4 separate regions of the Homo sapiens genome follow, and all the other regions are linked to region 1. The links are contacts of gene promoters, found by promoter capture Hi-C in blood cells and fetal thymus (Javierre and others, 2016). All regions are on one chromosome and are shown on one strand. The core of a region is centred on a gene start or on the middle of the fragment in contact, and the rest is flanking DNA. Distances in the headings are between cores, read along the strand shown.

Region 1 (7,343 bases), core at 2,628-5,127:
CTGCCATCACACTCGGTTAATTTCTTTGTGTTTTTAGTGAGATGGGTTTTCACCATGTTGGCCAGGCTGGTCTCAAACTCCTGACCTCAGGTGATCCACCCAGTTCAGCTCCCAAAGTGCTGGGATTACAGGCATGAGCCACCGTGCCTGGCCGGCTTTCTTTTATGAAAAAATTACAGGCCGGGCGCGGTGCTCACGCCTGTAATCCCAGCACTTTGGGAGGCCGAGATGGGCGGATCATGAGGTCAGGAGATCGAGACCATCCTGTCTAATGCGGTGAAACCCTGTCTCTATTAAAAATACAAAAAAAAAAAAAAAAAAAAAAATTAGCCGGGCGTGGTGGCAGGTGCCTGTAGTCCCAGCTACTCGGGAGGCTGAGGCAGAAGAATGGTGTGAACCAGGGAGGTGGAACTTGCAGTGAGCTGAGACTTCGCCGCTGCCCCCTCCAGCCTGGGTGACAGAGTGAGACTCCGTCTCAAAAAAAAAAAAAAAAAAAAAAGAAAAAATTACAGAGGAGGATTATGCCATTATCCCAGTGAAGCAGAAAAAGTTTTTTAGACTTTTCTTTTTGCTGCTTTCTTCAGCATTTATACCCCTCTATATATTTATATTTTAATTATTTATGTATCTTCAATGGCAGTAAACCTTCATCATTTAGAGGCAAAATATATTGTTTGGAGCTAGCCAAAGTCATTTGGATGTAAATTTGGTGAATGAAGAAAAATAACAGTTTTTAGTGGGGGAAAAATATGTGGCGCTAAAGAGAGTTATTTTCCAGTACTTGCAAATTGGTTCTGAACACAATTTCAAAAGATGAGTTCCAAAAATATACTGAAGGATGCCCTCAACACTGGAATTAGTGTAATTTACATAATATTTTAAAGTTGGAAACATTTAATATAGATAGGACTTGATTTTTAAGTGTTTGAGAGTTAGAGTGTTTTTTCAGTTATTTTAGATGTGCACATTACCCCCTCACCACAGGTATTATAGGTTGATACATTCTGGGCTATTTTTCCAGAGATATTTATTTGTCTGTGGAATTCAGCATTAAGTCTGAGCTCTTCAAATAGACTGTATCTATTCATGACCTAGGGCCTAGACAACCTTTTTGTAGTGGGTCATATTTTCTTTGGTGTTTTTCTCAACTGCTTTCTGCTTGGCCCGCTCCATTCTTCAATGCCCTCCTTCCCAGGTCCTTAGTACCTTTCCACTGTCCTCTGGCTACACGGAACTCAGGTCTGTCCTATTCCTCCAGGGCTCAGACTCCAAAATTAACATTCTCCCTTATCACCAGATCAAAACTACCAATCCACTAGATTGTAAACTCCATGAGGGCAGGACGTTTTGTCTGTTTTGTTCACTACTATATCTCCAGTACCTAGAACCAATCCTGGAAACTCTTAGGCACTCGAAGTTGAATGAATGGCTAAGTCTCTAAATTTGTTACTCTGGCTAGCTGTTGGGAGGAAAGCAACCCATTGAACCAATTTACACTCATCTGTGAAAGACCAGTAGCCCCTTATCTCACCCTAAGGTATTTGCATACTTAAAGAGAAAGCTTGTGAATTCAAATTACTCTCATTGGGAAAACTTCAATAGTGAAGCAAATGGAGAAAAAACATTTCAGGCTAAAGGGGAGTGTTGGGGGATGGTGGTGGTGTGGTGAGAGCTATGACTCAGGTAGGCCAGATCTGCCTAGGAGTTTGCCCCTGAGGGCCTCTACTTTTTAAGGCCCCTTACGTTCCACACCACCACAACATCTAAAAGCTTAGAGACTTCTTCATGATGGCTCAGGGCAGTGATCAGGATAAGGAGACTATAAGTCAGAGGACTTATATTCTGTAGGACTGTTTTTACATTGGGTACTGGTATATATCAAAAGGAAGTTTCCTAGCTTTCGAGTTAAATGTACAAGAGCACAGGGAATCTCCTCATAGTCATATTTGTTGATAACAAGTTAATTGCAATATTGTAATTTCACTATATGTAGATGTCATTTTTTTTCTCCTGTGAATTGCCTTGAAATAGATGCACATCTGATATCGAGCTGTGGCACACTGTAAAAGATAAGACATAATTTTTTATGGCACATTATTTTAAAAATGTGTTCTAATATAGTCAGGTACTAGCGATTTTTTTTCTAGACATTGTGTCCTGTTTTTGACCCCCCCGCCCCACACACCCCTAAAGCACCTTTCATATACTTTCATTGGGAAATATAAACTTAATGGAAACAGTAGCCTAACCTCAGAGTTGTGATTCTTGGTTTGTGATACCGGGTTTAAAACAGATGGAAGTTGATTTTAGTGGTTTCAACTTTTTAAATGCCAGAATTCTTTCTGTACTGTCTTCTATGTTCTTTTTGATGATCTGTAAGCTCCTTAAACATTAAAACATTTATTTCTTTTAGAACAAAACTCAAATACATGATGAAAGCAAGCTAAAAGCAGTGCATTTAACAAACCACAATATAATGTGATATATTTATAGAATTATTACTAAAATCAGAAAATCAATGTCTTAGTGATTAAGTCTAGGATAATCAAACTTATTGAATAGTTGCAGTAGTTACTTAATGAGATAGTTTTGATTAATCTTTTGTCCAAATAACAATATTGTGATTACAGGCTTAGCACTACAGGTAGTGTAACCATCAGTGAGTGAGATTAGTACATTTTACATAGTTTTGCTATTTTCTCAGTTTATTTTGGAGTCCAGTAATAACCAGTCAGTCTGTACCTGCCATAGGGCAATCTTTGGTTGATATGAGTTCCTTTCCTGATTTTAAAATAAGTGCAATCTTTAACCTAATAAAATTATCTTAAAGTTTACAATTGATGGTTTAAACACATTATAATTGCTCCGTATTTTGCAGATAGAAGAGGCTTAATCCATGTTTGTAGATCTATTTCCTAAAATAAAAATTAGTAAAAAAAAGTTTTTTTTCTTCAGGTTTAACATTCATTTTGTACCGGGAAGAGAAATGGAATAAGAGGCTCGGATTTTTAAGACTATGCAATCAGATACAAGTGCCATTTTGGCCAAAGAATGAGTAAAACATTCTAGTCCCGACACGTTTAATAATGGGCATACATCCTATTTCTTTGTTTCATAATCATTGAGCTCTCTGCCTTCTCTCTCTTTTTTGGTATGGTAACAAATTCGACAAAATCAATGCCATCTAGTTAAACTTTTTGATTAAGTAGTGGATCCGGTGTCCTATCCACGAAGAGGTGGGAAAAGCGATGTGGAGAAGCAGGCACGAACCCATCTGGAATGGAACATGTCCCTTCCGAATAATTTCATGTGGGAAAATAATTTCAAGTTGAAGGATAATTACTGCAGAGACTGCCAGTCACCCCCGGCCGCCGCCGGCCGCGCAGCGTCGGAAACCCTTCGCGGCAGCCAGGAGGGTCGCAGCCCTCCCGGAGCCCCGCTTCCTGCCCCGGGGCGGCGCACCCGGCTCCGGGAAGGTGCCGCGCGGGAGACGTGGCAGCAGCCCCTCCAGTCCGCGCCCGGGCGCAGCGGCCGAGCGCTCCGTGCAGCCGGGCAAGGAAGACTCCGCGGCAGCAGCGCACCGGCCGGCGGGGAGACCCGCCTGAAGCGCCGGCGCCCGCCAGGGGACGGGAAGTGGCGCCCGGCCCGCCCTTGCGGCCCGCGGCCCGCGGCCCAGCAGCTCCGCGCCGCCCCTTTTCTCTCGGCCTCTCCCTCGGCCTCCGCCACCCCGGCCGAATTCTTGCATAAATTATGCCAGGCGCGCCTGACGTCAGGTGGCGGCGCGCGGGCGCGGGCGCGGGCGCGGCGCGGCCCGGAGGGAGCTGGCGGCGGGCGCGCGCGGCCCCGCGGCTTCGGGTGCGCGCGGCGTGCCGGACGCGCGCAGGCGCTGGCGTGCTGGGGCCGCGGCGGCGGCGGCGGCGGCGGCGGCAGCGGCGGCGGCGGCGGCGGCGCGGGGGTTGAGTCGTGGTGGTGCGGACGCGCTCGTGCTCGGGAACTATCGGATTAAACTTGAATCGAGTGAAATTACACAAAGGAGCGCCGCGGAGGAGGCGGCCCGGGGACCCGGACACCCTGAAACTCACCAGAGACCCGTTCGCCCCCGGCCAACTCCGTGCCCGTGGATTCAGCCCCCTGGCCGCAGCTGCCGAGCCAACTCCGGAGCCCGCTCTGCGTTTTGTTTTCCCCTCGGCACTAGGCAGCGGAGGAGCCCGACCGACCCGGTGAGCGCGAGAGTTCGCCCGGCGCCCCCGGGAGGGGCGGCGGCGGCGGCGGCGGCAGGAAATCGCTCCGGGCCGGGGCCGGGGCCGCGCTAGGAGTTGGGAGCGAGGAGTTGGGCGTGTGCGGGGCGAGGGGCGAGGGGCGAGGGCGGGAGGGGGCCGGGGCCAGCGCAGGAGCGCAGCGCCGCCCGCGTAGTGTCGCCGGCGTCGCCGCCCGCGGGGCCCGAACCCGCGCCCCGAGCGCCGCCCGGCGCCCCAACTTTTGCCTGCGTCCGCCGGGCCGGCGGCGGCGGGGGCGCGCGGTGCGGCCGAGGGTCACTTCCTCGCATGTAAATGGCTTTTTGTTGTGCTGCCGGCGTGGGGGGGGGGTACGGGGGACAGGAGGGAGCGTGTCTGCGCGCGGGGGAGCGCGAGCGCGTTTCCTCCCGCCGGCGCCGAGCACGAGTTGCCGGCTCCATTCGAGAGAAAAAGGAAGGAGGAAAAGTTGGGCTCCAACTCAAGTGCGAGCGGGCGATGGGCGCGCGGGCGCGGGGCGGCTGAGCAGCGGCGGCGGCGGCTCGGGGACGGCGGCGACCCCCGCCTCCCGCCCCCGCCCCCCGCTCCGGACCGACCACGCCGCGCTCGCCGGGAGCTGCGGCCGCACCGGCGCGAACAAAGTGCGTTCCTCCCGGCGCGGCGGCGCCAGCCCGCGCGGGGACCGCCACCGAGCGAGGTGGGTCGGCGGCGGGGAAAGTGCGCGGGGCGCCGCGTGGGGCGGGGGCAGCGCGAACACGCGGCGCGGGAGGCGTCCCGAGCTCAGCCAGTGCCGGTCGCGGGCGCGGAGTTGCGAGCCCGGAGTTGGGGGCTCCTGGGGCTCCCCGGCGGCTCCCAAGTGCGCTAGGAGGAGAAGAAAGGGAGCGGGGCCGGGGCGAGCGCCGGGAGGCGCGGCGAGGAGGGGACCCCACCTTGTCGAGCTGGCCGGGCCGCCGGCGGCGGCAGCTGCATAATAGCGACTTTAACCTTCCAACGCAACTCGGCTCCCCCGCCCCCCAACCCGCCGGGGGTCAGCGCCGGTGGGGGGTGGTCACCAGGTGGCCCCCGAGGTGACCCGGGTGCGCTCTGCCCTCGCAGAGAGCCGCGGCTTGGAGCGTGAACGGCCGAGGTGGCTGGAGGCCAAGCGGTCAGCGGGGAGAGGAAAGGAGGGCGGTGGGGGACGCGTTGTTTGTTTGGTTCGCACCGGGGATTGGGCTCGCTGGGGGCGCGGGGCTCGGGCGGGGGCGCGGGCACCGGCTGGGCTGCGGTGCGGGGCGGGCGCGGCGGCGCGGGGCTGTCGAGGTCGCGGGGGGGGGGGGCGGGGGCGGCGGCGGCGGCGGCTCCCGGGCGGGGGTGGGGGCGCTGGTCGGGAGGCTCTGGGGAAGGAGCCGCCGGCCCCGAGCAGCCATCATTACCGAGCCGCCTTTCTCCGGATGGCTCTGCCTCGAGGAGCCCGGAGCCGTGGGAGCGCACCCCAAACTCCCGGCCGGCCGCCCGCTTTGTGAGCGCCCCCGTGAAGCGAGCGGCGCGGAGAGTGCTCCTGCTATGGGTCGGACTCTTTTCCTGGAGGTCACTTTTAGAGACTGCTCACGCCTTGGTTTAAACTAGTTTTTTTCCCCCTCTTCTGAACAGACAATGGACAAAAGAAAAGTAGCAACCCACATGGAGAGAGTTTCCTTTTGAATTGCTAGAATTAGATACACTATCCAGCGCTCCACTTGCTAAGTATACTTTTTAGTTTCCCATTGTATATTATCTAGCAATCGATTTAAATAACTTATCTTAAAAAGTGTCCCTTTTGGGGGCTTAATTTCTGGAATACATTACATGTCTTAATTTATTTTTAAAGGATTTTGTGAGGCCCTGATTTTTTATTTTCTAAAAATTTTAATTTAAGCCGTCTTTGCAGTGGGCGATACCTTTCTAAGGGGTTAAGTGTTATTTCACCCCAGTTCTCTCTCGGTAAGGGAGGGAGTACTCAGTATACGTAGTAATCGAAGAGGAAACAAAATACGTGTCTTTATTTCTTCACTGATCTTGTCTGACGATGACAAAAAATATCTTAGTGACTGTGACCTTAGCAGCATGGCTACCTGATTTATCCCAGTTATAATTATATTTAGATTGCAGTAATGTCTAAGTACAAGGTAATTCCTATTTCAGAAATAACTTGAGCAGTGATTTTACGAAGTTGAATCCTTCTCCCAGCCCCCAGAGTACATCTGTCGCGCAGTGTTTTTGTCTTGCTGTTGCACAACAGAAGCCCTCCAGTCTTTACCCTAAAATGGCAGCTTTCATTTGACTGAGGCCCATTCATTGACAATGATAATAAAGAGGCTGAAAGCTAGATGCTTGGGGCATGGAGTAGGACTTGGTTTGCCTTTCTAGGTGATAAGTAGGAGACATTTTATGTCTTCCAGTTTGCTCAGGAAAAGTTTATTTTCCCTGAAAAATCTGTCTTGTAGAAAAAAGTTATAGTAAAATAATTTGGAAATGGGTAAAGGCTTGAGCAGCAAATTTTAGAAGCTAAATTTTCTTATTTTGCCCAATAGTGGAAATATGGCATTCTCTTTTTTGGTAATCTGCTGATAAAAGGACATAATGGATTTTTGTCAGGCTTGTAACAGGTGAATTTCCTCATGCTGGTACTCAAGAATTGGGATTGTTTTCTAGCACTGTGGGTTTTTTTCTCTTTATATTTTCTAATTTTTTCTCCTGTTCGAGTCACTAAATTGAACCATGATGAATTGTATCCTGGGTCTATGCTTTCGCGATTGAAATGAGTTTTCAGATAAGAAATGAATTATAATTTTAAAAGACTGGTATATGAATTTTAAATTATTATATTCATTTAATCAATGGCCTTATTTTTAAATTAGTTTTTTTAAAAAGTTACTTTCTTTTATATGTCTTAACATGGAAGGCACAATACAGGAATGGTAGAGTGGTTGTACCGGTGATGTTTAAAAACCCAAATATTATTTTCCTCTTTCAAGGAAAGAAATAACTTTTTTTCCCAAGTTGAAAATATGGAAGTCAAATTTATAACAACGTATTCAGTAACTTAGTTTTAAAATAGTACTTTTATAGATTCACCAGTATTTGGTCTAGTTT
Region 2 (7,343 bases), core at 2,642-5,141, 1.6 Mb before region 1:
TACAGACCTCCTAGGTTCAAATTAAGATTGGGGAGGAGACTAGCAAAAGCAAGGGTGGTCCCAGGAGTTGGAGTGGCTGGGAAATGGGTAACTGGGAAGGAGATGGAGAGGTGGGAGGTAAGAGGCGCTGGGCATACTGGTAGACCTGCGACTGAGGGCTGGCTTTAAAACAGAATAGGAAGAATCATCAGTATTTGAGAAACACCCGCAGGGTCTTTTGAAGTTTCTAATGTCCTAGCAAAAGTTTAGAAAGCATTATAATAAATCACCCTTCACAGCTAAATAAAATCACTGTGCTCCCCACTACCTTCGTCATTTTCTAGGCCAACCCTCTTGAATGGAGCCCATCACAAAAAACGTATGACCACTAGAAATAGTCTCACATACCAAAACCAACATTTGAGAACCAGGTTGGTACCCAGGAAACCACCCCTAAAACTGGAAATTTCCCTACTTCTTCCTGTTCCACTGTTCTTAATTCCCTTGCAATCACATCATTTAAACAAAATCCACAATAATCATTCAATTAGATATTTACATATTAGTTTAGTTTTTGTAACTAAGCAAAATACCAAAATTCTCCTTAATATCATTTACTAACTTTTAAAATATATGATAAACTGTGAGAATACTAAACTACCTATGCAATGTTAAAAATAACATCAGATCCCTCTATAGCTCATACTTATAACTTTGTTTGCATAGACATTTAAAATTGAATTTGCAATACTGAAATAACCCACACAGTCAAGATAGCTACATTTGAAACTTTTCTATAATATCTGATTTAGTGGCCAAAAAACCATGATTGCTTGGTTTATGCTCTTTCTTACATAGGCATTTATTTAAAACATATTTAACAACCTGAAAACTTCTGAAAAGTGCCAGCTGATAAAACTCCCAGGGGAATTTTAATTATATATATGTGATGTATGAATTATCAACTATGAATTTCCCAAAGTCCTAGAAGTTATGGAGGTGGATGAAGAACTAATCAAGCATGATGCTCTAAACTGCTTATAACCCTCCCTTCTTTACCTTCTTTCTTCCCATACTCCTCCTTGACCTACTCTTCCTCCCATCTTTTCCTTTTTCTTACATTTACTGTTCAAAATAGGAATAATGACTCCTTCTTAATGTGCTTACAAATCCTGTATTTTTGATGAGTATTGCCACATTAAAGTATAATACATAATACATTTTAAATAGAAAATAAGCTCAAAGGAGATTTTGCAGAGACTGTAATGAATCTCGTTATTCTTAAAAGTTATCAAATGTCTAATGTTTGTCCTGACATTTTCAAGCAGAGTTCATCACAAATGGGTCCTTCCTTGTGCGTTTTTACGAAAAAGAACATATACACTGTCCTTCCTCATTTCAATGATAAAAGCTGAATATTCCAAATGCCCACTATTCTTCACTCTGTATATCACCAGCATGAAGCATGGGTTTGTGTTTTGGACTTCCCTGTTTCTAAATCAACCAAAGAAAGATTCAGGACATGATTCCATAAAGGCAACCACTGAGAACAGTGAAGCCCATTATTTCTCCTCCCACTGCAGGCCGAGGTCACCATCCCTGTCATTAGCCATGTCATAACATAATTGTATTACTACTCCTTATGTGGGCAGATACTGAGCAATAACTGAACACATCACATCGTTGTAAAAATGAAAAAGTACCACTTCTTTGTCCTATCTTAGCATAAAACCAGTGAAAACAATCTTTGGAAATGACGCTGCACTAAGAAACTGAAAAGAACTGTTATTACTCTGTAGGTATATATTTAAACTGATGATCTGACATCTTTAACTAGAATAGAAAACAAGACTATATCACTACAGAACTCCAATTGTAAGCTCATTTAATCCAATTTATTTTGGTAGCATTCAGCTCAATTAAGGGATACAATGTTACTTAAAATAGTCTAATTAGATGAAACTCCACTATGGTACTCATCTTTCAATGTCTGAAATATAACCATGCATTAGGCTGCAAGAGGTGAATACTGTTAACTCCAGCCTCCATGTGTCTGTCCAGTCTATGAGCTACACTGCTATTTCCAACACTGACCTATATACAGCAACATGCCATCCGTTCTGGCTGTTTGTGTAAGAGATGCCTCACACACTTGCCTTAACCAACATCATTCGCATTGTTCCCACAATGGGCTATGTGAAAATGGAGGCTACTTTGCATAGTGATATGTTCATAACGTGTATTAGTCTTACAGTAGAGCAATACTAGATTAAACCGTTTCCAAAAATGCCTCCTCCAGAGTTTATTAACTGAAAAATGTAAGTAGCATTTTGGCAATCTATAGAGCAGCAGTGCCGGAAAGTGTCAGCAGAGTAAAACAATCACATTTTAGTTTAGAAAGCTTCAGGAAGAGAATATTCATTTTCTCCATTAGAGTCTCTTCTGACATTGAAAAAAATGTCACCGGGAAACTGTAGCTACAGTTGTAGGATTCTAAAGCACAGATAGATACTGGTTCCGCTGGGATTTAGCACACCAACTTTAAATAAGCAAAGTGTTGACAGGTTTAAAATAAAGATAATTAGTAATTTATGATCTTATCACCCTATTAAAAACAAATCACCTGACAAACTGACTGCTATTTGTAGTAAGCTACATATTCATTACGCCTCCGAAGGAAGCAAGATTTACTTTGCAGTATTGTTCTTTTGGGGATGTCTGATCCAACTTGTTTTAATAAATGTAGGCACAGATTTCTTACTTCACCTTTTCCAAACTTCTGTCCTTCTTCCATTTCCCTGCAAATCCACTCATGTCATTGCAAAAACAAATGCTAGTTGACTGCATTATGCACAACTACAATTGTGGAGCTGGACAGAAATTTTGTACCAATGCTAATCATGGTGGAGTGAAAAAACTCAAGTGCCTGGGATTTGTGGGGCCTAGAAAACTATCCAGTACATTTAATATAATCGGGACCAGTGACAAATATATCTGATGGACTGCTACACAGAGATGGGCCAGAGATGTCCCTGGAGAAACATTTCCATGAAGTCTTCTTCCACTATTAGAAACATGTCTTATGACTTTGGATTTTAAAAAATCTATTATTCTCTGGATAAGTTAAATAGAAGACTCGCAACTAGTCTACAGAAAGGGTGCCTAATTTGCATTTAAAAAGAACAGTTTGCTTCTTATACACGGGGTGACTTAAAAGGAACTTCAATGAGCTAGTAAAGAAATTCTGAATACTTTCTAAATTAATTTATTCAATTCACAGCACAACCCACTAAAATTATTTAAAGCACTTAATTGGAAAATGATTTAATATATTGAAGTAATTCCTGATTTTCCAAAGCATTTAACTTTTAAATTAAATCTGACCCTACTTATCACAAGAACGAGGAGTGAAATGTGTATCCAAGTCATTAACTTCTTTTTGGGGCCTAAAATCACTGATAAACTTAATAAGATTTGTCCAGTCTCATTGCCAAAATAGTTCTGAGCTTTTGGTTCCGGTAACTACAGTGGAATAAGTCTTTACTCTCCAAGATAGGGCTGCAACTTTATTATTTTTTATTAGCAATAGTATTGGTGTCATAAGCAAAATAAAACGTAACACAATACTTGAGTGTACAGACAAAACAGATTTTAGACTAAAAGAACTATGTCACCAGCAAATAATGAAACTTCATCACACAAACTCCTATGCGCTTGCCAAAGTTCCCCGTACCTTTCAACTTGCCCGTAGCTGAAGGGCTCCCTGTACAATGGAAGCCCTTCTGCCTTGCTCAAGACTGGATGTCCCTCTTTTCTAACTTGCCTAAACACCATCGGCACACAGCACAGTCCTTTGAGTGGGTCTCACACTGGACACAGCATCGAGGAGCTTCTCCACGGGGAAGTGTGTGTGTGAGAGCCTGCCTGTGTGTCAACACTGTCCAAGACTCGGAGCTGCGACTCGGTCGCGTGGTGCGGAGTCCAGGGCTGAGAAGGCAGCGCACTAAATATCTCTGTATCAGGTAAAAAAGCCGTTTGGTGATGACTCGCCACCAGGCAAATGTTGGGAGTCCCAACGATTTTTCCCGTGGAATGCACCGAGGGTCGCCATGGATGTGCCTGCAGGGGCTGTGAGTATCAGGCAGATTTATCACCAAGCGAGAGTTGGGCGTCTAAAAGGCCCGCCCAGCGTTTTAGAGAACTCAATTCTCTCTGCCAACGTTCATCCAACGGGACTGCTTAGACACGTCCAACTAGCCCTAGGCGTGGGCAGTCGTGCCCCTGCGACCACTCTGGGGGACCGGTCCCTGCGTGTCCTCCCTCTCTGGGATGAGAGAGTTCGAGAAGCCGGGAGAGTAACCCCCTCCCTCGTACCCCCTGACTGTCCTATAGGTGGACCCAGCCGAACTCCGCAGCAGCCCAGGCCAGCGCCCCACCTCCGGGTCACCGGCATGATCCGCCTCTCCCCGGGCCCCCGCGGCCCTGGCACCCGAGGTCAGCGGGCCGTGGGTACAGCTCAGCCGCGGACCCTGCTCCGCGAGTGCGGGAGCTTTGGACTTGAACGCGACGTGCTCGCCCGGCTCCCAACAAACTTGCAATTTCCGCGCGCACCCCTTAAACAGGAACTGTTCCCCAAACCTTGACCCAGCTACCCCGCTGTGCTCTGGCCCGCGGACCTGTGTCCGAACCCGGGCTCGGCTGCCGGAACCGGTTTGAGAAAACAAAAGAGTTGTGGGGCAGTTTTCCCTGTGGGGGGCAGGGGCGCCTCCCAGGTCCCTGCACCCCGACTCCCGGCTGCTCCCCTGGCAACTAATCCGGAGAAGGGAAGTGGTGCCACGAGCCCCCACTGCCCGGGGAGGGAGGGAGAGAGAAGGGGGAACTGGGAAATAAACTGAATTCTCTTACTCTGCCTCCGTTCCTGGACCCCAGACACACCCCCAAAGTATTCCACGGTTTTCTCTTATTATTTTTTTAAACGCCCCCCGGCAAACCTAGGCAGGGATCCTTAGCCGCGAACAGCAGGAAGGAAAGAATCCGAGCAAATCGTGTCACTTTCCGCACAATCGCGGTGTTTGGCAAGCCCCCGGAGCTACTCCACAATATTTACTACCCAAGCGCACGCAGGCTGCAGCGGGCTGCGAGCCGAGCGCGCCCGGGACCGGCCTCCGCCAAGCCGGCCCCGCCGCGGCCCGGCCACCGCCGCTCCCCTCCCAGGATCAAGCAGCAAGAACACGGTGGAAACAAAAGCAGAGCGTTCACCTTGTTGCAATAGTAGGGGTCCAGGCAGGGAGAAGGTCCCAGACAGGGAGCGTCGGGCGCAGCGGCGGGCTGGGCTGGAGGTGGATAAAATCTTACGTCCATTTCACTCTCACATCAAGCAACTCCTTTTCTTTTTCCTTTTTTAAAAAAAAGTGTTCAGCAAAACAAGCTTAGACGGAACAGAGTGAGGTGTCTGGGCTCAGGAGTAAAAGAAACACCTTCCTTCCCTCACATCCGTTTGTGGTTTGTTTAAGAAGAAGAGGAAAAAAAAAAAAAAGAGGGGGGAAAAGCGCTCAACTCTCCCCCAAGCCGCGGCGCGCACCCGTCGGCGCCGAGCGCGCAGCCTGCTCCACCGCCGCCTCTTGGTCCCGCCGCCGCCGCTGCCGCCGCCGCCGGGCAGGTAACTTCATGCGCTCATTGTCCCCCCCGCCCGCCCCCCCATCCCCGCCTCCCGCGCCCCTCGCAGCCCGGCACACGCGCTCGGGCTCTAGGTACTGGGCGTTTTATTGGAGATTCTGAGTTGTTCTGCTTGTAGTTTATTTTCTCCACCTTGGAGGCCCGGGATGTGGGGGGTGGGGGGGTGGGGCGGGGATCCAGAAGGGACAGGGCGGGAGGGGGGCGAGCGTCCCGGGCCGGGCGGGGTAGGGAGCGCGGCCGGACGCGGGCTCGTCAAGGCCCAATGGCTGCTGTTCGGAACCAGAGGCCGGGGACCGGAGAAAGGAGGAGCGGAGAAGGAGAAGGAGGAGAGCACGGCCTGGCTGGGACAGAAGCGGTGGGACCCTGGGAGGCCTCCGCTGTGCCCGTGCCGCGCTCCTCGGGACCAGCGCGTCGCACACAAAGGGGCTGCCGAGCCAGAGCCACCAGCGGCCTCAGGGCACCGTGGGGAGCGCGCAGCTAGGGGGCGCTGTGGCGCACCCCGCCCCGCAGCCCCGCCCCCGGCCCTCCCCGGCCCCACCCCACTCCCACCGCCCTCTCCGCGGCCGTCCCCACCCCTATCTCCGCGACCCCCACTCCTCCTCGGCTGTTCCCCAACCCTGTCACTGTGCTCCCCTCCCTACTCCCGGCCCGTAGTGGAGGTGACTTTCCTGCGCAGCGCCGCTTCTGAGGGCGGAGAACCCACAGGGAGTGCGACCCCTTTGCACGCTGTGAGTGGGCAACTGTCCGAGGGACTCGAGCCGATCGAAGGGTGAGGACCAGCTCGCCTGGGGGTGGACGGCCTGGAAAAGCCGCCCCTCTTTGGCTTCCCTCTGCCGCCTGCAGCCCGCACCCCTCCGAGATTCGTGCCCCACTGGACGGTTTGCGAAGGCTGAGGCTGCCTTGGGGACTCACAAAAGACCACAGGGGTGATTCGAAGTGTAAATAGGGAAACAATCATCAGCACACAATCCGGCTAAAGGGATAACATATGAGTTTGCTTGTTGTCCTTCATGGGATTCTTCTCTTTTTATAGCTGGACGCCCTATAGGGCTCTTGGCAGTCCACGAAAGACCTGGAGTCCGCCTCCCCATTTCTCCGGTCGGTGAGTGGCAGGAGGAAATCGCCAAACATGTTTTCCCGCTTTGCCTCCCCAACTCGGAAACTTGCAACTTGCCGTGTCCTGGAGGTTGAGACAATTTGGGGTCTCTTGGCTGCCGTCCAACAGATTTATCTCTGAGGGCAGTGTCCTTGGTGAGAGGTCCAAGTAGGTGTGGGCGACATTGTCCTCCATCTCATGAGGGAGCAGCCCTGCACACTAGGGCCCAAAACTCTGCGAAGGAGCTTGGAAGTTCTTCATCCGTTCCACTTGTTTTGCTACTCCACACACCCTTCTAGGACATGTTGATTGCCAACTGCTCTGTGCAGCTTTCCCATAGCTGTCTGTTCCCGTGCATTTCGGAGCACCAAGCAAATACGAGCAGAGAGACCTGGAAAAAAAAATGATGAAGACAGTATTAATGATAAAATTAACATGGCTGAGTGAATTGTCAATGCAAGTTCCTTTACTAACTCTTTGTTAAGTTTTGCTTTGTACTCCTTACATCCTCTTTCTCTTAAGCCATTGTTTTAATTTCTTCTCGTTATCATTTTTAAAAGTAACAGAAATACAGCTTTCTTCCTACCTTCAC
Region 3 (7,343 bases), core at 4,844-7,343, 1.1 Mb after region 1:
GGGAAGAACCAAAGACAGTGAACCAATTCTCTCAAGCCCTTTTGTGAGGACCTGAATCCCATCCATGAGGGCTCCACCCATGTAACTCAATTCGTTCTTAAAGGTCCCAATTTTTTTTTTTTTTTTTTTTTTTTTTTTTTTGAGATGGAGTCTCGCTCTGACACCCAGGCTGGAGCGCAGTGGCGTGATCTCAGCTCACTGCAACCTCTGGCTCCTAGTTCAACTGATTCTCCTGCCTCAGCCTCCTAAGTAGCTGGGATTACAGGCGCACTCCACCACACCCAGTTAATTTTTGTATTTTTAGTAGAGACAGGGTTTCACCGTGTTGGCCAGGATGGTATCGATCTCTTGACCTCATGATCCGCCCACCTCGGCCTCCCAAAGTGCTGGGATTACAGGAGTGAGCCACTGTGCCCGGCCACCAAGTCTTAATACTATCATGTTGACAATTCTGTTTCAACATGATTTTTGGAGAGGACAAAAATATTCAAACCATAGCACCTCCAAAGAACCATAGCACATAAACAGATACGTAGTATATCTATAGTATTACATTTTCATGGGATGAAGGACAATTATGAAAAAATAAACATCTAAAAGGCTTCTTGTGGGGATGAGTAGGGCACTAATTTTAGAAAAGCTTGAGAAACTCATAGCCAGGCCACTGTTCCTTCTATAGTGACACTTCCTCTTTACTCCATGGTCCTGAATATTATTTTATTTATTGTTTAGCTTTCTCTTCTCTCCTCTTCATATTTTCTCCTTTTCTTTTTCTATAATCAGTTCTTCCTTCCATTCAACCATTATAGTTTTATGAGGGCTAATTTGTTTTTTTGATTTTTGATTTGTGTAAATGTCAGGGGTACAAGTACAGTCTTGTTATATGGATACATTACGTATTGTTTAAGTCTGAGCCTTTAGAGTATCCATCACTTGAATAATGTACATTGAACCCATTAGGTAATTTCTCAACCCGAAGAACCCTTCCACCTTCCCAAGTTTCCAGTGTCTGTCATTCCACACTGTATGTCCATGTGTATACATTATTTAGCTCCCACTTATAAGTGAGAACATGTGGGATTTGACTTTCTGTTTCTGAGTTGTTCCACTTAAAACAGTGGCCTCCAGTTCCATTCATGTCATTGCAAAAGACATGATTTCATTCTTTTTGATGGCCGAATAGTATTCCATTGTGTATATATGCCACATTTTCTTTATCCAGTCATCCATTGATGAACACTTAGGTTGACTGAATATCTTTGCTATTGTGAGTAGTGCTGTGATAAACATAAGAGTGCAGGTGTCTTTTTGAAATAATGATTTCTCTTCCTTTGTTTAGATACCCCCTGAGTGAGATTGCTGAATTGCATAATAGTTCTATGTTTAGTTCTTTGAGAAATCTCTATACTATTTTCCATAAGGGTTGTAATAATTTACATTTTCACCAACTGTGAGAGTAATAATTTACATCCTCACCAACATCTGTTATTTTCTGACTTTTTAATAATAGCCATTCTGACTGGTATGAGATGATATTACAAGGGCTAATTTGTTTTTAGTGGATTACTTATGTTCAGGCACTATACTTTCTAATATGGGTGACTGTGAAACAGGAAATATAATCTCCCAAGTTTATTTTTTTGTCTAAAAAACGAAATTCTTATTTAAAAATCAAATGCATAAAGGCAGTTTTACTTATATATTTGTTTGTTTGCTTTTTAGACAGAGTCTTGCTCTGTTGCCCAGGCTGGAGTGCAGCAGCGTGATCTCAGCTCACAGCAACCTCCACCCCCTGGGTTCAAGTGATTCTCCTGCCTCAGCCTCCTGAGTAGCTGGGACTACAGGCACATGCTACCACACTCAACTAATTTTTGTATTTTTAGCAGAGATGGAGTTTCTCCATGTTGGCCAGGCTGGTCTCGAGCTCCTGATCTCTGGTGATCTTCCTGCCTCAGCCTCCCAAAGTGCTGGGATTACAGGAGTAAGCCACCATGCCCAGCCTTGCATTTTTTACTTATTACTGAAAAAAACCTTTTTATGATTAGTTATCCATCTATTTATGTACATATGTACAGTTGGAATTCATTCCAAGGGCTTGCAGTTGAGCTCTCGTTCTATTTTATTATCTACATATGTATATAAATAGATGGAAATAGATATTAATGACACCGGGCATGGTGGCTCACACCTGTAATACCAGCACTCTGGGAGGCCAACATGGGAGGATCACTTGAGCCCAGATGTTTGAGACCAGCCTGGGCAACACAGTGAGACGCTGTCTCTACAAAAAATAAACAAAAATTAGCCAAGTGTCATGGTGTGCGCCTGTAGTCTTAGCTACTTAGAAGGCTTAGGTGGAAGAATCACTTGAGCCTAGGAGGTAGAGGCTGCAGTGAACTGAGATTGCACCACTGCACTCCATCTTCAGCAACAGAGCAAGAACCTGTCTCAAATAAATAAATAAATAATAGACATTAATGAGCAATGAGCATTTATTATGTGTCTGGCGCTAGTGCTTGCTTTACATGAGTTTATTGTCACAATCCTCACCTCACCCCTATGAAATAGATGTGATTGTTATCTAAATTTGATGAACAAGTAAACTGAGGCACCAAAAATGTTCAAAGTCACACATCTAATAGTCAAGGCCACGCATCTGATAAATGGCAGCTTCAGGATCTGCACCCTGGCAGTCTGGTGCTAGTGCACAAGCTTTCCCCTTCACATGATCCTGATGATTCTTACCCAAACTTGGAGACTTTGCAGGGGCTTGCACACTTGAGCTCTTGTTTTCCTGAGAGCTAACATAGGGGACTTAGGACCCAGTTCCTGAGGTCAGCTGTAAATGTATTTCCAAGAGCTTGCAAAATTCAGGGAGCTGAAATGGCTGTGGGGAGGGATGATGATGGACCCTGCACAAAGGTGGGATTAAGAATTCTGAAAAGCACAGGAAAATCCATACTGGAAAGATGATGGGATGTAGTCCAGAGGTCAAAGGTCAAGAGCTCTTATGGGAACAGCAATGGGCAAACATGCTTAATGTTGAACTGGCTACTTACAAGTGACACCTTGCAGGGAGGACATGTGCTCTATGTCCTGATGAGAAGAAATGCTAGAATGCTGAAGAACCCTACCTCCAGAGACCAGACCCTGCCCAAGGTCCTACTGGTCTTCATTAAAGGCAGCATGTCAGTTAGGATCCGAGAGAGGCAGATGACAAGACAGAATCAGACATGTAAGAGGTATATTAAGAGAAACACCTGAGAAGGCTGAAAGGGCAGGGAGCAGGAGTAGGGGAGGGAATATTTGGCCTGTGATGCAGCCTGATTCTTGTAAATGGAGAAAGAAAAGGAAAGAGGACTGGATAGGAGGAGCCATAGATGGTTCAGAGGAGCTCACAGAAAACCTCAACTAGGCCAATGGGAAACTCTGGCAAAGTGTGATCGTTAGAGCTCTGTCCTATACTGGGCAGAAATGGCTGAGGTCTGTTACTGCCACCATACTTAGGGTGGGAGCAGTGGCCTTTGGTGTAAATGCCAGGACAAATCTGAAGGCGTGGCAGCCAGGGTCATTGGCCAACTGAGCTTCTCGAGGCAAGCACCCTTCAAAGGCAGTCTGAGGGGTGCACTCCCATGACCACCATAGGCACTTACTCTGGGCTATTTTCAAACACCTCACTAGGTGTCACTAGCCCCACTGAAAGATGGAGAAACATGCTCAGAGAGGGTGAGCAACGTTTCAGAAGTCACACAGATTGTAAATGGAAGATGGGATCTGAACCAAAGTCTGTCTGTTTCTGTTTGAACACATGGCCTCTCTAAGATATTTGTAACCATATTGAGGTGCTTAATAAATCCATGAATTAGGTAAGGGAAGCTTTGAATTACCATAGGGCAGAGAAGAGGCATTTCAGACAGCATAATTTCATCAATAAGCTCAAGCATGGAAAACGAACTAGCAAAAACTTCATATGATCAATTCAGATAGTAGGTCATTGACATTCATGATTTAAAATTAATGGTTTCAACCATTTGTGAGACTCCCTGGTTTGTAACTCAAAATAAATTCAAATTTTATTAATAAATACAGTTGAATATTCCAGGAATAAGCAAGCTGATATTCCTGAAAGGCCTACATAGCCAGAGAGAGAACCTCATAGCTAACTTACGAACCTTGCCTCGACTTAGCTTCCTTATCCTGAGTCATTGTCTCACATTCAGAAATGTTCATAAGGTGAACCAAGCTCTATTTCTTCTTGAAAAGTGGCCAAAAAAGAAGCTGCTAATGCTAATGATGGAAGTGAAATACCTAAAGGAGTCCTTAGCTAAAAATGAAAAGGTTTAGATGAGTTAGAGTATAATGCCAAATTTATCTGTGGACAGAGTCATACCCCAAAGGGGTTTACCATGTGGTCCTTTAAGAAAAAGATATTTGAGACCCCATTTCCAGACAGTGCTCTGACTACCACCAAAATTGCTCACTGAGCAAGGGAGAGATCTTTAAGGGACTAAAAAGGAAGAGGCCAGTTGGCTGCATTTTATGTCAAATCTTGTAGGCTATGGGGATATGTGTGAATTTGAAAGATTCCTAAAGGTCCTATATTTATCTCAAAAAAAACCATTAAAGTCAAGGATCCACTGCATTGTGGTTTCTTGATTTCTCTCCATAGACCTTCTCCCTGCTTAATGTTTTCATTTTAGAAATGGTCCCACCTTTCACGCAAATGCTCAGGCTCAGAAACTCATCCTCTCCTTTGATGCTGTTTTCCTTATAGCACACATTAAATTCTGCAGCAATTTTTTTCAGCTCTAAATGGAAAATTTATCCTACATTACAGTCACCTCTTTTCTTTTCACCTCTATCACAATTACTCTTTCCTAAACTGCCACCATCTCCTAAAAGAGCGTCCTGGATGATCTTCCAGTTTCTGTAATTCCTCTGAGAGACCGTCCTCCCCACAGCATCCACGGTGATTGGCGGGAAGCCTAAGTCAGAATTAGCAAACAGCAAAAAGCCTTCAATCATTTTCTACTTGATTTAGAAGAAGTCCAAAGTCCAATATAATTTCCAGTTAATTGTAAAAACCTATGGAGAAAACAAAATCAAATATTCTTATAAAGCATGAGTAGGAGAGGCTAATATAAAATGGTAGACAAGAAGGTATATCTAAGAAAGTGGTGTTTAAAAGAAAACATCCTGTTCATGGCCTATAAAACCATATGTGACCTAGTCTTTGGATTCCTTTCTGACTTTATGTCCTCCCATGCTCGCTCACTCTGGTGTAGCCACACTGGCTTTTGGGCTTTCTCGAACGTGACAGATATGCTTCTACCACAGGGCTTTTGCATTTGCCTGGGACCCTATTTTTCTACACATCCATAAGGCCTCTCTCCTCTGTTCTTAGAGTCTGGAGGTCATGGACACACAGAGGCCTTTCCTGACACACCTATGACCTTGTCATTCTGTCAATCTCTACTTTCTCAACCTGATTTACTTTTCTCTCTGGTGTTTATCACCATGGCATTATAGTGTATATTTGTATATCTTTCTACTTCAGTATTTATTTATTATCTGTATCTCAGCATGGAAACATATACTCCATTAGAACAGAGAATTTGTTTTGGTCATTGTCATTTCCCCAGCACCTAAAACATACATAGTGCATAGAAGGTAGGTACTCAATAAATATTCATGGAATAAATAAATAATGACTGTCTGGACAAGGTGTGTCCTGTCTAATTAGTTGTTTAGGAGAAGCAGGCACTGGAAAGTGGGTGAAGGGTTTGTGGATTGTTTAGAGGTACCAGTTCCATTTCTTCTCCTGTGGCTACCAGAGGCTTCCCTAGCCCGTGGGGGTACAGGATGTGGCCTGTCACCATTGGATACCCAGAGCACATTGATATACTTCCTGATGGAGTGGTTTATGTAGACAGCTGGGAAGAGGAAGCTATGGGTAGAATTAAGCCATGAAACAAAGCCGGCTTCACAGATAATCACATTCTCTTAAAAAAAACTGAAGATTCAGGATTGCTGAGACTGATGGGTGGCATTTGCATACTTCTATGAATAACTTTTGCTTTGTATTATACAAGCAGACAAATTCTATTATTCCTGAAGATTTCTCTTTTTATTAAAGTTTCAATCACTTTTAAGATGAATGTACCACATTTATATGGCTATTGCTTATTTTGAATAATAAAACATTTTACTCTCAGTTGTACAAAATATTAGCAGTAGCTGAAAACAGCACAGACTTAAATTATGCAAGAGGTAGCAAAGTCACCTTTTCCTGAGATAAAGTTATAATGAACAGTAACATGTTAGAGCCCAGTGAACATACTCTATCTTCATATTTTAAATGTCTATTGCCTACGTGGAATTTGGCAAACAGAGACTACTGACAATTAAAGAAAAATATTAATTCATGTTTTAGAAGGTAATCATTAAGCAAAAATATTTACATCAAATTCAAAGTGAGTTTAAAACAGGGTGACACTTTTTTCATTCATTCAGTAAGAACACATCATTTGTTCTATTTATTTTGTTTATTGAAATGTGATCCAATATTGAAATGTGTTGGTTATTTTTCAGCTAATCTTATTCAATTTTATTAGTTTTTTAAGTTGTTAAGTGGGTTATGCTTTCCATACAGGTAGTAAAAATATCAGTGATTGCCAGGAGCTTGAGAGAAAGGAAAGAACACGTGAAGCACAGGAGAGTTTTAGAATGGTGAAACTATTCTGTATGACAATACAATGGCAGGCCACATGACATGATGCATTTGTCAAAGCCCATGGAATGTACAACACAGGGAGCTCTAAAGTTAATAATGGACTTTAGTTAATAATAATGTATAAATACCAGTTTATAAACTGTAACAAGTGCTTCATGCTAATGCAACATGCTAATAATAGGACATTGTGGGGAGATAGAGAAGTTAGGAAAGGGAGGGTGTACGGAATTCTTTACTTCTGCTTAATTTTTCCTGTAAATCTAAACCTGCTCTCAAAATATAGCCTGTTAATTGTTTTAACTTTTAAAACATGACCCAATTACATAGGGTCTATAAGAAGTTCAGTTCAAATATAACAATATAAGTAGACTCAAAAGAATGGAAAATGGTATTCCATGTAAACATTAGAAATCACAAGAAGTAGATATTAAAAAGAAGTAAAGAAAATTACCTGGGACAGAAAGGGACATAATGATTAAAAGGTTCAGTCCAGTCCTGATTATAGGCATCAGGTAGCTCATGCCGATAATCCCAGTGCTTTGGGAGGCTGGTAGGAACATTGCTTGAGCCCAGGAGTTTGAGATTACAGTGGGCTGGATCACTGCACTTC
Region 4 (7,343 bases), core at 3,240-5,739, 1.0 Mb after region 1:
CGGCTCTGCAAACGTAATTATTTCTCCCTACAGAGCACTCAATAGAGAAGACGGTCTCATAGAAAAAAAAAAGCATTCCTCTGAGCTATTCAATTGTCCACATGGGTGGGTGATAATTATTAGCATGGTGTTCAAAATAAGACAGTCTCTCACTGGCCTGAGAGAAGCAAAAGGTGTAAAGGAAGATGAGCTATGTCCACTGAGAAACTCTGAGGTGGTGAAAGAAAAGTTATTACAATGAATAAAAAAGGTTATTTTTTCAAAACTAAGAAACAAAAAAGCTTAATCCTGCTTTAACTCTAAATTTCAAGGCAATGAGACAAGGACACACTGCCAATATGGACAACTAACACTGGTTTACAGCTGTGTCCATGAAGACTCTTTGACTTTAACCTATTTTGACAGCAAAAGATCCATGGCCCTCCTCCCCACCAGTTCCCACTTTCTGGAGCAAAAGAATCCAGCATTTAAAATAAAGTGCCCTACAGATGCAAATGGGGAGGAAAGTGAGGGATTACAAAAATTCATTAGCACAGCATACACAGAAGAATCCTGTAAATTATAAAACACACGTCTTACAGTTGAGTTAGTAGAAAACCATAGGTCAAAAAACAGTTGATACAATTATGAATTATAATACATCTTGGGGATATTATAAGGATATTGGGAAAACTCTATATTTTCTCCTTCTGTACTCTCACCCCACAGTCAACACAGAATATTCCTGCAGCCCCTGGTCACTAAAACATGTGGGGATTTCTCCTCACCAGCAAGTAAGCAATCAATTCTGCAGCCAATCAATTCTGCAGTAGACACCAGCTGGCTGTCCTCTAATTCAATTCAGTTCTGACACTATCTACTTGCAGATAGTGTCAGATCCCACAGGTTGAGGGCTCAGTCTCACAAGACTGTCTCTACTTCTGAGGCCAGTCACAAGTAGTAGGTTGTCACCTATACTTCAGACCAACTGGCTATAAATCGGAGTTCCCAACACCCCCTCCTCCAGTTTGATTAATGCGCTAAAGGGGTTCACAGAACTCAGAGAAACACATTTACTAGTTGATTATAAAGGATATTACACAGGATGCAGATGAACAGCCAGATGGAAGAGATGCATAGGGCAAGGTATGTGGGAAGAAGTGCCAAGTTTCCATGTGTTTAAAGAAAAACTTTGGCCAAATTAAAATTATTTTATTTGATTTTAATTTAGACAGAGTCTCACTGTGTTTCCCGGGCTGGAGTGCAGTAGTGCAATCAGAGTTCACTGTAGCCTTGAACTCCTAGCCTTGAATGCAATCCTCCCACCTCAGCCTCCTGAGTAGCTGGGACCACAGGCATGCACCGCCATATGCAGCTAATTAGAAAAAAAAAAAATGTCTTGTAAAGACAGAGTCTTGCTTTGTTGCCCACGCTGGTCTTGAACTCCTCCTGGCTTCAAGCAGTCCTCCCACCTCCACTTCCCAAAGTGCTAGGATTACAGGTGTGAGCCACCACACCTGGCTGACAAATTAAATTTACAGAGTTTAATTTAGCAAAGAACAATTGTTGAATTGGGCAGGACCCAGAAGCAGTTCAGAGACTCCAGGGCTGCCACAAGGTCAGGTAATACTTATGGACAGAAAAAGGCACAGAAACAGCTGGATTGGCTACAGCTTAGTGTTTGCCATATTTGAATATAGTTTGAACAGTTGTACCCCTGTGACTGACTAAAATTCTGTGACTGATACAAGGGTAGGTTACAGTCTGTTTATTCATTTAGTTACGTTACGATTTACTACATATGGAAAAGCCTTTAGGCTGAACTTGAAATAGGCAAGGAGGCAGCTTTAGGCTAAACTTAAACACATGTCATGCCCTCTTTGGGCACACTGTCTCCTCTATTAATCTTTGTCAGCTATCTGGAAGCTCCAGGAACCATCTTTTTAGTTTTTTATGGACACTTCATTACTTAGGAATGACTGATTACATCAATGGTCACTAGTGATCAAGTTAACTTTTAGCCCCTCTCTCCTCCCAGAGGTTGGGGGTGGGGCTGAAAGTTCCAATCTTCTAACGATGCCTTTGTCTTTCCTGTGACCGGCACCCATCCTGAAGCTATCTAGGGGCTGTTAGCCGCCAGTCAATTATTAGCGAAAGACACTCTTAAGACTCTGGGAGACCACAAGGGTTTTAGGAGATGTATGTCAGGAAACAAGAAGAAGACCAAATATATATTTCACAATATCACAGATGGCCAACAAGCTCTTACTAAATAAATTAATAATAAAAGTGAGTAACAGTAATAAACACCAACAATGGCTGCAACTAAAAATTGCATAAACAATTAACTTTACCCAAAGAGAAGTCTGGTCTTTGCCCTTGGTTACTTCAGTGGGGTCTCCAGATCCCAGGAATGTTCTGCCTGATAACAGTGTCTTTGCCTGGGGGCTTTGGCCACTGGACAGCCTAACCAAGTGGGCGCTGGGACATGCCATATCAGTTGTGATCTCCAGAGGACCCTGGGGACCCCAAAATTATAGCTGGTGCCTGAAGTGAGGGCAGTCTTGTGAGAACTATTCCTTCAGACTGTATGGTTTGCCTAACTTCTTGCAGAAAACATGATCAACTGAATAAACAGGTGATGCCCTAACAGCGGCCTTCACCCTAACAGCATGAAGTCTGACTTTTCCTACATACAGATCAGTAAAAATTTCACAACTTTGCCAAAAGCTAAATAACCACACTTCTGTAGAATAGTGAATCTCATATTTCAATCTACTTGGTAAGGTACAAATATTTGTTTATAAATTCCAAAAATCCCTCGCCATAAGACAAATGAGAGAGGGGTACTGCAGGTACTGCAAGGTAAGTTTCTTGTTTCATGGGCCTCAGTAAAATGAAAAATAATGAATAAATGAAGTATATTATCTCATGTCTCTTCTAATTCTAAAAATTCATTATTCTAATTCACAAAATCTCGACTCTTTAAATTAAATCACCAGACAGTTGCAATGAGAAAAAAAAAATCAAAAAGTTTCTCTTAACTGTGAGTTTCACTCTATCAACCCTAGAAAATCCTAAGAAAAATTTTTAAAAAGCAGTATTATAGAGGAAGGCACATAGTTTACTTGCAAGACTGTGAAAAAAAATTCCATTTTATAATAAAAACTTAAAAAATTTCTAAGAGAGATATCAAGAGTTCTCTGCAGGAGAATGCCTGTCAGAGACCAAGGGTGCCTGCAGGGAGATTGACTTCTCATTCCCCAGTGGATGTCCACTCAAGCAACGGACTCCATGGCCCACCCTATGCCTAGTTGAACAGCAGAGGGAACTGGGGAATGACGGCTACAGAGAAAGGTGACGGCTACAAGGGAGCTCAAGCTCCAGGCAAAATGTCAGCTTCCCACAAATCCAAGAGGGCAGCAGGGAAGTACCAGCGTTTGTACCATTTTGCCAGCACCTCACTCAAAAGGGCTGACTGACACACAATGGGCTCCCAAGAGCAAGGGGGGATGAAGTATTCTGCCAGGAGTGGAGGCCCAGGGGATTGAGGGTGGACCAAGTCATGTGTCACAGGGAGGGTCCATACCAGGCCTTTCAAAGAACTCACATGGGCAGTGTTTGAGCACCTGTCACTTGTGAATAACCATGCCAGTCAATCTTATCAACTTAGAGAGGAGACTGAGAGGGGCCTCACCCCCTTTTCCTCCCCAGCACAGCCCCAAAGGCAAACCACAGGAAAGCACACTCACTCCTTCCCCTCCTGCCCTGCTGCAAAGGGGAGACAGGAACATAAGCACCGAAAATGAGATCAGCTCTAATCCAGACAGACTTTTAAAAAGAGTGACTGAGATGTTAAGTTCTGTCCCAAAGATGGTCAAGATCCTCTGCTACCAAGAGCAAACAGATTAATCTATCCCAACTGTGCACAACGAATGGAGAAAAATGAAGCTATTTCCTGTTAGCATCCAGGCAGATAAAGATGCCTCAATAAAATGGCTACAAAATGTGCTTCCATATGTCGGGCTCAACCACAGGAAATTGTCAGTTTCTGACCCACAAAAATGGCTATTTCACAGGAAACAAACAACGTAAGAATTTCCCCAATGTTTTACTATGAAAATTTGCAAAACACAACAAAGCTGAAAGGATTCATAACACTTAGATTCCGCTACAATATTAACATGGTATTATATTGTTTGTAGCATACCTATTCATCCCTTTACATCATCACCTTGTTTGTATAATGCATTGCAAAGTAAACTGTAGACATCAGCACACATCTCCTAAATAATTCGGCATGAGTATCATAAACTATAGTTACACATTTCTTTATAGTTATTTAAAGTGAAATTTACACAAAATGAAATGCATAAATTTTAAGTATACATTCCCTGAGATTTAACAAGTGTATACAACATGTAACCCAGATCCCTATCAAGATCTAGAACATCAATATTTCTGCTTAAATTCCCTCATGGCCATTTCCATTGCACCCCATCCCCAGCCTCAGAGGTGGCCCCACTGTTCTGCTTTTTTTCTCACTGTAGTTTGCCGTCTGCCACAACTGAAAGATAAATAGTAAGATATTGGCTGAAGTTGGTGAAGATGTGAAATAGCTGGCATTGAAAATACGAATAAGCATAAGCTAAAAGCACACTAAGACCACAAGGCACTGGTGAAGGACCAGCTGAGCAGGAAGGTGTTGAACATACATAGTTTATTTCAAGTTTACTCCAAATCAGTAAAAGTACTTAAGCTAGTGAACTGTGCTCTTACTCAATGTTACTCTATCCTACCCAGTCATCTTAAATGTCTCACTGATAACAAGGTAATTCTAAAAATTAGCTTGGGTACTTATTAACACAAATAGTGTACTACTTCTAGAAAAAAACTATAAAATAAATACAAGGGGCTTAAGAGTTTTCCACCTTCATATAAGTTAATTTCATTTTAATAATGTTACAAAGCAAATATGTGATTGAAACATTGGGCTATGTTTGGATCCATGCCAGGCTCCCTAGGTCTCCAGGTATATTTACTGGTTACAACTAAACAGATGGACCAGCTAGAAACCACCAAATAATCAAATAAATCTTAAGATTCAAGAAAATAAGCATTATATTTTAGTCATGAAGAAAGTTCAATTTTTAACAAACCAATGTACCTATTGCTAGTTATTACCATTTAAGGAGGAAAATGAGCAGCATATCAAGTCAATTAAACCAAATTACCAGTATTAAATGGCTTACCTTCTCACAGATGTTAGAATATCCCATGTATTTTATAAAGAATTTTTACTTTAATAAACTTAGCAAAACATTCTTAGTAGCTGAAATAGTTACAATTTAAAGAAACTTAGTATTTAGTCATTTTAAATGGAATTTTATTACAAGGTAATACTAGACATACAATAGCTATATTCTGTTTACAAGAAGCACTAAAACCATACACAACTTTTTGCCAGTAAGTTTGAAACTTCAAAGACAGAAAACGTTTTAGAAAATATAACTTACTCAAATGTACCTACCAAGAGAAAATATAACATAGCAAACCTAACTCAAGAAGACACAGAAATTTTAAGTAGTCCTGTAAACATTTAAAAAGCAAAGGCAGTTTCCCCTCATGTCTACCCACACCTCACCCAGTGTTGGGGTAAAATGACAAAAAGGTTCCAATGAGTTTTACCAAATAGCTACTTCTTTTTTTTTTTTTTTTTTTTTTTTGACAGAGTCTCGCTCTGTCGCCCAGCCTGGAGTGCAGTGGTGCAATCTTGGCTCACTGCAAGCTCCGCCTCCCGGGTTCACGCCATTCTCCTGCCTCAACCTCCTGAGTAGCTGGTACTACAGGTGCCCGCCACCACACCCGGCTAATTTTTTTTGTATTTTTAGTAGAGACGGGGTTTCACCGTGTTAGCCAGGATGGTCTGGATCTCCTGACCTTGTGATCCACCGGCCTTGGCCTCCCAAAGTGCTGGGATTACAGGCATGACCCACCGCGCCCAGCCCCCCAATAACTACTTCTATACAAACTATGCCAAAGAACAGAAAAAGAAGAAATCTTCCTAAATTCATTTATGCAGCTAGAATATGACCTTGATAACAAAACCAGGAAAGAAAATGTCGGGTCAGTTTTACTCATGGATCTATTAACTAATCCAATAATACTGAAAATATATAAAACCACCACGCTGGATTCTTCCCAGAAATGTAAGGATGGTTTTAAATTAGAGCATCTATTGTTATCATTTACCATCTAAAGTATGGAAGGAGAAAAACCAAATATATAATATCAATAGGTGCAGAGAAAATATTCCGTACTAATCACAATTCTTAAGGAAGTAAGAGGAGAAGGAGAAGCAGGGGGAGAGGATAGGAGAGGAGGAGAGGAAAAAAGGAAGGAAATTACAGACCCACATCTAACATAAACACAGACGCAAAATTGCTGACAAAATATTAGCAAATAAAGCAATATATAAAAAGGACAATTCAAATCAACCAAGTGGGACTTTGAGTGAGAAAAAGTATTTGACAAAATTCTCAACCTAGAAATACAAATTTCCCCAATCCAATGAAAAGCATCTACAAAACACCCTGAGTTAATATTTTACTTACTTAATGGTAAAATACTAAATACTTTGCCACTAAAATCAGAAACAAAGCCAGGATGTCTACTCTCATCACTGGTATTCAACATGATACTGGAAATCCTAATTAGTGCAGTAAGGCAAGAAAAGACTGGAAAAGAAGTAAGACTGTTTCTATTAATGGGCTTCATGATATTTACATAGAAAATCCCAAAGAATCTATTTTCTTAAAAAAAACTACTAGAAGAAATGAATTTAGCAAAGCTACATGATATAAGGTGCATGTAACAGTTCTATGTCTACATCCTAGCAGCAAATAATGGGAAAATGAAATTTTAAAAATACGATTTCTAATAGCATCAAAAAATACAAAATATTTAGAAAAATGTTTAACAGAAAAATGCGTAAAAAGAGCTCCATAGCAAAATCTACAAAAAAAAAGGCAGAAAGAAACTAAAAACCTAACAAATGAAGAAATATACCACTATCATAAATTAGAATGTGCAATATCACTGTGATTAATGCTCCCAAAGTTGGTCTACGGAGTCAATGCAATCCTAATCATAAACCCTAGCATGCTTTATTCTGTGGAAGTTGACAAGGTGATTCTAAAATGTATATGGATACACAAAGTATCTACACTATTTAGAGCTATTTTAAAAGGAACAACAAAGTAGGAGGATTTACACTACCTAGTTTTAACACTTACTGTATAGCTAGAGTAATCAAGATTCTGTGATAAAGTAAAGGCATAAGGACAAACAGATAACAAAAAAAC

The links. The method cuts DNA at HindIII sites, captures the fragments that hold promoters and counts their contacts. A CHiCAGO score of 5 or more calls a contact.
Region 2: a fragment that was not itself captured here is called in contact with the fragment with the promoter of CHD7 in region 1 in 1 of 17 cell types (fetal thymus); the score reaches 6.2 in fetal thymus.
Region 3: a fragment that was not itself captured here is called in contact with the fragment with the promoter of CHD7 in region 1 in 1 of 17 cell types (neutrophils); the score reaches 5.0 in neutrophils.
Region 4: a contact is called between a fragment that was not itself captured here and the fragment with the promoter of CHD7 in region 1, in 1 of 17 cell types (neutrophils). The highest score is 9.1, in neutrophils.

The regions. Positions count from the first base shown.
Region 1 is chr8:60,674,863-60,682,205 of GRCh38, forward strand. CHD7 (chromodomain helicase DNA binding protein 7) reads left to right here and starts at 3,878. Exons shown (of 38, transcript NM_017780.4): 1 at 3,878-4,220. RefSeq lists silencers at 3,426-3,865, 4,226-4,325, 4,986-5,355. The HindIII fragment of the contact is 9,178 bases long and covers 1,769-7,343 here.
Region 2 is chr8:59,113,648-59,120,990 of GRCh38, forward strand. TOX (thymocyte selection associated high mobility group box) reads right to left here and starts at 5,500. Exons shown (of 9, transcript NM_014729.3): 1 at 5,239-5,500. The coding sequence starts at 5,340. TOX-DT (TOX divergent transcript) reads left to right here and starts at 5,563. Exons shown (of 3, transcript NR_149031.1): 1 at 5,563-5,638; 2 at 6,310-6,424; 3 at 6,689-7,343. RefSeq lists silencers at 2,137-2,186, 6,025-6,244. The HindIII fragment of the contact is 3,027 bases long and covers 2,379-5,405 here.
Region 3 is chr8:61,725,833-61,733,175 of GRCh38, forward strand. No RefSeq gene overlaps it. Among named protein-coding and RNA genes, the nearest start is that of MIR4470, 15 kb to the left of the region's middle. The HindIII fragment of the contact is 4,439 bases long and covers 3,875-7,343 here.
Region 4 is chr8:61,696,600-61,703,942 of GRCh38, forward strand. The region is part of intron 1 of ASPH (aspartate beta-hydroxylase); the gene reads right to left. Among named protein-coding and RNA genes, the nearest start is that of ASPH, 14 kb to the right of the region's middle. The HindIII fragment of the contact is 8,420 bases long and covers 280-7,343 here.